2 separate regions of the Homo sapiens genome follow, and region 2 is linked to region 1. Evidence: promoter capture Hi-C in 16 types of primary human blood cells and fetal thymus (Javierre and others, 2016). All regions are on one chromosome and are shown on one strand. The core of a region is centred on a gene start or on the middle of the fragment in contact, and the rest is flanking DNA. Distances in the headings are between cores, read along the strand shown.

Region 1 (3,882 bases), core at 159-2,658:
TACTGTGTTTAGTGTGAAAAGCAGACACCAATAGTGTGAATTATGACCTTTTTTAATTAAAAAATTTTAAACAGCTTTATTGAGGTATAATGGAGCTACAATAAACTGCACATATTTGAAGTATACAATTTGATACGTTTTGACATGTGTATTCCCCCATGAAATCATCACCACAGTCAAGATAGTGAACATATTCATCACTCCTAAAAGCTTCCTGTTACCCTGTGTGATGTCTCCCTTCCCTTCTCTCCCCTCCCCTTCTCCCCAAACCAATTATCTGTTTTCTGAGCAGTATGATTTTTGTAAAAAGAAAAAAAATGTTTATAGACAGAGAGTAGATAGATGCTTAAAACAGTGTAGAGGACAATGATGGGAAATTTTGAAATTTTTTTTGTTTATGTGTTTGTGAAATTGTATGACAAATACAAGTTGCTTTTGTAATACCAAGAAGTTATTAAAGTTATTAAAATCTGCCACAGACAACCCACAAATTGAATATACTGCATAGGTGTTTGATAAATGCCTGTTGGATACTTGCTAGAGGTGTGGAGTTGGCTGTAAGTGCTTTTCAGCTGTGGTGGTGATAAATATACTCATGATGGCTGAGGGGTACTGACTGGAGGGGTGACTGCTCTAGTGATGATGGCTTTAGGTGTACTGATGGCTGTAGGAGTGATGGCTGCAGGGCTGATGGCTGCACGGATGTGATGATGGTTGTAGGAGAGATGACTGTAGGGACGATGGTTATAGGGGTGAGAGGGTCATGAGTGCGGTTGGCTGTAATGTCCAGAAGGGTGACAGCTGTAAGGATGATGGCTGGAAGGGTGATAGCAGCAATGGTGATGACTGTAGAGGTGATGGCTGAAGGATGTCAACTGTAGAGGTGATTACCATAGTGACAATGGCTATAGGTGTGCTGATGGCAGCGGGGATGGCTGCAGGCCTGATGGCTGTAGGGGTGATGGCTGTATGGTGATGGCTATTGATAGGAGTGATGGTAGCAGTGGTGATGGTCACAGGGGTGATGGTAGTGGTAGTGATGGCAGTGACGACCTTGAAGACGTGAGTTGACCGGGAGCATTGATCCAACAGGCAGCCAGATGGTCCAACTTCTGGTTTCTGGATTCTGGTCAGTGAGATAAAGGGCTTGGGTACGCCATATAATGTCGAGCTGATTGTCCACCTCTAGGAAGATGGAGCAGAAGGACTGATGATGATCGACATGAGACAACAAGGTAGGGACTTTCTCTGACTGTTCAACCCAAGAGCCGTCTGCATCAGAATCTCTGGAGACTGAAGCTTGGACTTCCTTCCTCCCTAGGGGCCGGCAGGGGCTGCGATTGCTGTAAGAGTAGGTCACGTGGCAGGGCTTCCTGTATGCTGCTGCTGCCGGGTGTCCATGGCCCGCACCCCCAAGCTGCCACTGCAGCAGTCAGAGTGGCAGCTGAAGGCTCGGTTCATGCCGTGCCCCCGGGCAGTTCTGGTGAGGCTAAGCAAGAGGCCTCTGCATCTTGACACCTAGGAGAGCAGGGACGGAGTCTCCCAGGGTGGAGGACCATGCTGCGCCGCAAGCCCTCCAATGCCAGTGAGAAGGAGCCCACTCAGAAGAAAAAGGTGAGGAGCATTTTGGGAACTCACATCTTCCTTTCCTCTGCTTGCTCGACCCATCCCTTCCAAGACTCTTGGAAGTGGGAAGAGCCAAAGGCCATATGTTGAGTCTGTAGGTGAGGGCCACTCACCTAGAAGGCAACGGGACAGGGACCCAAAGGTTAACAGAAGTACAGAAGAGATGTTTAAAATTCTGGAGCAACAGAGTTACAGAATAGATCCTTAGAAATCTAGAGTCATGCAATTCAACCCTAGAAGAATGGGAAAAAAGATCTAAAATTAGGGGCCAGAATCTTAGACTAGAATTTGAGAATAACAAAATACAATGCTTAAGCTGAACCCTAAGCTTGTACTTAACTATCTCTCCTCTACGCTGGTCCTGCTGCCACTTCTGCCCCGGCCACGGCCTCTCAGGAGCCATCTCACTCAAAGGGCCCTGCTGGGCTGCCCAGCTTGGAGCCATGATGCTCACAGGACTGCCACCCCCTCCTCCACTTTGGCCATGGCCCAGACCCTGCCCACTTGGCTCAGCTCTGTGGTAGCTCCCAGGCCCTACCCGAGATGGAGCCAACCTGGAGATGGGGGCCTGAGGCCATTCCAGTCTTGGGGGAAAAGGCATCCGGAAGTGCAGTGGGATGCAGGGGGCATACAGGTTCTTCCTGGGTGGGGAATGAGAAATTAAGTTGAGGTGGTGAGTAGGAGTGAAGGCTGAGGAGGGAGGATTTTAAAGGCCAGGAGGAAAAACAGCTGTCATGGATGGCTGAGGTGTTCATCCCCCTGGGGCAGAGACCGGACTGGAAGAATCCTTGAAGGCTGTGCCAGATCTAGGATTTTGTGGTTGAATTTGAGGATTTCCAGATTTCTTTGGTTGGGTTTGAGGATTTCTAGACCTAATTCTTTAATTCAATTGAAGGATTCTCCCAGACAATCAGCAAGTATATCCTACACATCCAATGGGATGCTAGGACAGTCCCAAAGCAGGCCTGAACTAGGTCCAAGAGGCCCAGGCTATCCCCCGCCAATTTTCCCTGGAACTCAGCCCAGGTGCCCTATGGTGGATCCCCCTTGTCAGGGGAGTAGCTCAGAGATGGAGGCCAAGGCAGCTGAAAGACTGAGACTCGGGGCAGTGGGGTGTGCATCCTGCCCCAGCTCTCAGGTCCTGGGGTGGCTGCCACTTCCGGCTGTATTCTCCCCACCCCAGCTGCTTCTCTAAGGTTGCAGTGGTGGTGGGCGGGGGAGGGGGGAGGTTCATGAATCTTCACACGGGCTCTGTCATCCCCGTCCAAACCCTGCAGGGTGCTAGGCCCAGCAGGACTGCCATTGGCTGCCACTCCTAAGAGAGCAGGGCCACTTCCCCTTGCTCTCTGGCTGGTGGGGGTGGGAAACAGAGATTGCTCTATAGACACTGCTAGGCCTCAAACCACAGGGGCGCTGAGCTGGAGGAAAGTGTGAGAAAGAGCTGACACTTTGACACTGGGACCCTGTGCCACATCAGGAAGACGTACCTAGGGGCACACAGAAGCCAGAAGTCCCCTTTTTCTTTCCCAGCTTCAATTACCCAGATTCTGTGTTCGGCAGGCAAGTGGGCCCCTGGGATTTCCCCAGGTCTCTCCCAGGAGAAGGGGTCCTTTCGGGGAGAGTAGTCCAGGCAAACCCCACCCCAACCCCTGCCAGAGCCGGTGCCAGCCTCCAGAGCTGGGATGAGCTTGCCTCCACACACTCTGCTAGCCCCAGACTATGGAAATGTCCCCCAGAAGCCAAGCTTCCAGAAGGTACAGAGCATCTTCCCCAGGCCCAGAGGCAGCGGGCTGGCTGAATCACTGCTAGTCCCTTCTTCTCAGAGGCTGAGATGACGTGGTGGAGAGGAAAGCACAAAGGCAAGAGAGGCCTCTTTCTCCTGCCCCTGCTTCTCCTCTTGGGCCTGCCAATGGAGAATGTGCCAGACAGGGGGCAAGAAAGCTGAGCTGGAATCCTACCACGCTCTAGCTGTAGGACCTTGGACAGCTCATTGACTTTCTTTGGGCCTCAGTTTCCTCGCCTCTGAAAAGGAGGATAACTCCTAATCTGCCCCCCTCAAGAGGTTGTACAGATCACCCAAAAGAATAGATGTGAGAGTACCCTGTCACAAGTGTGCACGTGCATACCACACAAGGGGGTGCCTGCTGTAGGCATGGGTGGGGATAGGGAGACACTGCAAAGAAGAATGAGCCATGCCCCCAGTGCTGGCACAGAGAACACAAGACTTAATAGTACTAAGAGCCACCACAGAGTGAG
Region 2 (4,349 bases), core at 251-2,750, about 10 Mb before region 1:
GGCGGGAGGATTGCTTGTGTCCAGGAGGTAGAGGCTGCAGTGCGCTATGATGGCACCACTGCACTCCCGCCCAGGTGAGAGAGCAAGATCCTGTCTTAAAAAAAAAGCAATTGTTCCTCTCTCTCTAGAGCATTTTGAGGACCTACAAAGGCAGTGTAGTGTAGAGGTTAAGAGTAGAGGCTTTGAAATCTGGCAGGTGTTAGTTACAGCCCCATCTCCACCATCTCCTGGCTGTGTCACCCTCAGACAAGTTACATAAACTTCTTAAGTTTTCCCCATCCATAAAATCGGAAACTATTGAGTAGGAGTGTGAGGATTATACAGGATCATGCTCCTCAAGCCCTTAGCGTAGTGCCTAGCATGTGGTGAGCATTCAATCAGCAGTAGCTGCTGTTGTTATTCACTGTGGGGTTATCCTTACACCCCCAGCCTGAAGGGTACTGCATGGAACACTGTGGCTCCCTATGGCTACAAGAAGCTGCCTCCGTGCTTCCTCTGGGTCCCTTGACTCCCTAAGGGTCAGCCAAGCCACTCCCAGCCCTGGAAAGCAGAGGGCCTTTGCTTCGCCTGCAAGGCCCAAAGCTGCTTATAGTTAATGATTTTACAAAACAGGAGGAGACTCAAACTGGAACAGGATTCCAAGGAGCCAGGGGGAAGCATAAAAGGGGCCTGCGTGGAGCGTGGACTCAAGAAATGTGCCAAATACCAACCAACGGCCACAGGGGAGGGGAGGGGACAGGGGAGAAGGGAGCTTGAGACAGCTGAGCTAGACAAGAAGGGAGTACTATGTAAGGAGTCAGTTTCTGTTGGGTGGGGCTGCACCAAGCTTTCCATAACTAGAAAGATGCCAAGAGCAGTCCAAGAAGGGCACGGTTAGTGCCAGGAGGCCCAGCCCAGCATCACAGGCTGCACTAAGCAGGCAGCTCTTCTGTTGGGCTGGACCACCTTTTAGACTAGGTCCATAATAAGGGCACATTTTCACACTGAAAGGGGTGGGGTGTGAGGGTGGTGGAGCCTCTCAGCAGCCAACTTTGTCAGAACCGGCTCCCAGATAGCCCCTTCACACAGCTTTAGATCTCACTCCCATCGGTGTCACTAGATCCTGTGAGGGCAAGCGACAGGGCTAGTGCCGGTGAATGCCATGTGGCAAGTTCATTACCCTCACACATCTCACCCCACACCCTCCCAGTGGAGAACTCTTAACAGACAACCATATGCCATCATTCAGTGAGAGTTGGTGTATTCTCTGCCCCAGGGGGTCCCCTGAAGACACCTGAGGCTGGGTGCAGTGGCTCGCACCTGCAATCGCAGCACTTGGGGAGGCCGAAGTGGGCGGATCTCTTGAGCCCAGGAGTTTGAGACCAGACTGAGCAACAATGGCAAAACCCCATCTCAACAACAAGAAAAATACAAAAATGAGCCGGGCATGGTGTCGTGAGCCTGTGGTCTCAGCTACTCAGCAGGCTGAGGTGGGAGGATCACCTGAGCCCAGGAGGTCGAGGCTGCAGTGAGCCATGATCTCGCCATTGCACTCCAGCCTGGGTAACAGAGCAAGACACTGTCTCGGCCGGGCGCGGTGGCTCATGCCTGTAATCTCAGCACTTTGGGAGGCCGAGGTGGGCGGATCACGAGGTCAGGAGATGGAGACCATCCTGGCTAACACGGTGAAACCCCGTCTCTACTAAAAATACAAAAAATTAGCCGGGCGTGGTGGCGGGCGCCTGTAGTCCCAGCTACTCAGGAGGCTGAGGCAGGAGAATGGCGTGAACCTGGGAGGCTGAGCTTGCAGTGAGCCGAGATCGCGCCACTGCACCCAGCCTGGGCGACAGAGCGAGACTCCGTCTCAAAAAAAAAAAAATAAATAAAGACAGCTGAGCCTCATGAGTGGTTCACATCACTCAAGGCTTTGTTCTACGTTCACCCCTTTCTGCTTCTCCTTCTCATTTCCCCTTCTCTTTATTAAAGCAAACAAAGTAAGATGCAAGATTCCCACTGCTAGTTCTTGGTCCGCAACGCTGCAGGGGAGTCAGGGACATGAGAACTGATATGCTTTCTTTACGGAGCCTCCGATGTAGCAGGCATCGGAAATTGAGGTGGACTCAGAGTTGAGGTTTCCTGAGCCATTTGTTATCACCCCTGGCTGCCTCTTCCGGCCTCCAACAAATTCAGCACCATGAAGCTTCAAGTGCTCCAAAGTCAAAAGGAGAGGAAATGAATTTTCAAACTGAAGACAGTGCTGTAAAGAGCCCTAAACGGCAGAAGAAAAAATTTTCTTTTCTTTCCTTTTTTTTTGATAAGGAGTCTCTCCCTGTCTCCCAGGCTAGAGTGCAGTGGCGCGATCTCAGCTCACTGCAACTTCCGCCTCCCAGGTTCAAGCGATTCTCCTGCCTCAGCCTCCCGAGTAGCTGGGTGCCCACCACCGCACCCGGCTAATTTTTTGTATATTTTAGTAGAGATGGGGTTTTGCCATGTTGGCCAGGCTGGTCTTGAACTACTGACCTCAGGTGATCCACCCACCTTGGCCTCCCAAAGTGCTGGGATTACAGGCATGAGCCACCATGCCTGGCCCAAAAGAAATAATTTTTTAAGCCCTAAGAAGCAGAAGTATGGACTTCATTTCCTAAGCAATGGGATTTGGGGGATTTTGAGTGATTTGAGCAGGGAGGGCCATGATACAGGGAGTGTTTTTAAAAGATCACTCCAGCTGCAGGGTGTTTGCTTGATTGGATGGACAGAGAGACTAGGAGCAGGAAGACATAGGAGGAGATGACTCCAATAATGTTGAGCCAGCAGAGTGACATCCAGGCACTGTGACAATAAATGCTGGTTGGTGTGAACTGACCTGACTTGGGACTCAAAGAGAAGGAACAAATTTGAGAGATGTCTTAAGAAGGGATGAGCCTCTGCCGGGAGCAGTGGCTCACGCCTGTAATCCCAGCACTTTGGGAGGCTGAGGCAGGCGGATCACGAGGTCAGGAGTTCAAAACCAGCCTGGCCAACATGGTGAAACCCCATCTCTACTAAAAATACAAAAATTAGCCGGGCGTGGTGGCGGGAGCCTGTAATCCCAGCCACTCAGGAGGCTGAGAGGCAGGAGAATCACTTGAACCCAGGAGGCGGAGTTTGCAGTGAGCCGAGATTGCGCCACTGCACTCCAGCCAGCCTGGGGGACAGAGAGAGACTCCGTCTCAAAAATAAATACATTAATTAATTAAAAAAGAAGGGATGAGCCTCAAGGAGTGATTGGGCAGAGAGAACAATCGCAAGGGTCTAAGCCCGGGAGCTTGGATTGACAGCACCATGGAGACACATAGGAAAGCCAGGAAAAGATGCCTGTTTAATGGGGACGATGAGGAGACTGATTTTAAATTAGCTGTTACTAAAAAAATTACATTTATCAGATTTTTTATTTTGTGGAAGTAATCAATGTTCACTGTAGAAATTTTAGAACATACAGATAATAATAAAGAAGAAAATCAAAATCAACCATAATATCACTCTCCAGAGATAAACACTCTTAATTTTATTTATTTATTTATTTATTTATTTATTTATTTATTTATTTATTAGAGATGGAGTTTCTCTCTTGTTGTCCAGGCTGGAGTGCAGTGGCACAATCTCGGCCCATGGGTTCAAGCGATTCTCCTGCCTCAGCCTCCGGAGTAGCTGGGACTACAGGTGTGCACCACCACGCCCAGGTAATTTTTGTATTTTTAGTAGAGACGGGGTTTCACCTTGTTGGCCAGGCTGGTCTTGAACTCCTGACCTCAAATGATCCGGCCACCTCGGCCTCCCAAAGTGCTGGGATTACAGGAGTGAGCCACCATGCCCAGCCACTGGTGACTTTTAGAATCCTTATTTCTTTTGTATCTGTTACCCAGTGTCCAATACACCTAAATTAACTGAGGAGTTTGGGAAAGAAGGGACATAGAACCTGGTCAATGTGTTTTTCTTGCTAACTGGGATTTAAGCAGCAAACTTTTTGTCTCAATCCCTGTAGCTAAGAAAGCTTCAAAAATGTATTTGTGGCCAGGCACGATGGCTCACGCCTGTAATCCCAGCACTTTGGGAGGCCGAGGCGGGTGGATCATGAGGTCAGGAGTTTAAGACCAGCCTTGCCAACATGGTGAAACCCCGTCTCTACTAAAAATACAAAAATTGGCTGGGCGCGGTGGCAGATGCCTGTAGTCCCAGCCACTCGGGAGGCTGAGTTAGGAGAATCACCTGAACCCGGGAGGCAGAGGTTGCATTGAGCCGAGATCACGCCACTGCACTCCAGGCTGGGCGACAGAGTAAGACTCTGTCTCAAAAAAAAAAAAAAAATGTATTTGTATAGTTCCTACTTTAGG

Evidence for each region. The method cuts DNA at HindIII sites, captures the fragments that hold promoters and counts their contacts. A CHiCAGO score of 5 or more calls a contact.
Region 2: a fragment that was not itself captured here is called in contact with the fragment with the promoter of SASH3 in region 1 in 2 of 17 cell types (non-activated CD4 T cells and activated CD4 T cells); the score reaches 10.1 in non-activated CD4 T cells.

Annotation. Positions count from the first base shown.
Region 1 is chrX:129,778,541-129,782,422 of GRCh38, forward strand. It overlaps SASH3 (SAM and SH3 domain containing 3), which reads left to right and starts at 1,409. Exons shown (of 8, transcript NM_018990.4): 1 at 1,409-1,614. The coding sequence starts at 1,558. It overlaps LOC124905215 (a long non-coding RNA gene), which reads right to left. Exons shown (of 2, transcript XR_007068328.1): 2 at 35-1,739. RefSeq lists enhancers at 1,160-1,319, 1,570-1,649, 1,700-1,759, 3,027-3,206, 3,317-3,366. The HindIII fragment of the contact is 655 bases long and covers 1,298-1,952 here.
Region 2 is chrX:119,676,674-119,681,022 of GRCh38, forward strand. All of the region lies in intron 1 of SEPTIN6 (septin 6), which reads right to left. Among named protein-coding and RNA genes, the nearest start is that of SEPTIN6, 14 kb to the right of the region's middle. RefSeq lists an enhancer at 990-1,490 and a silencer at 1,429-1,548. The HindIII fragment of the contact is 1,353 bases long and covers 825-2,177 here.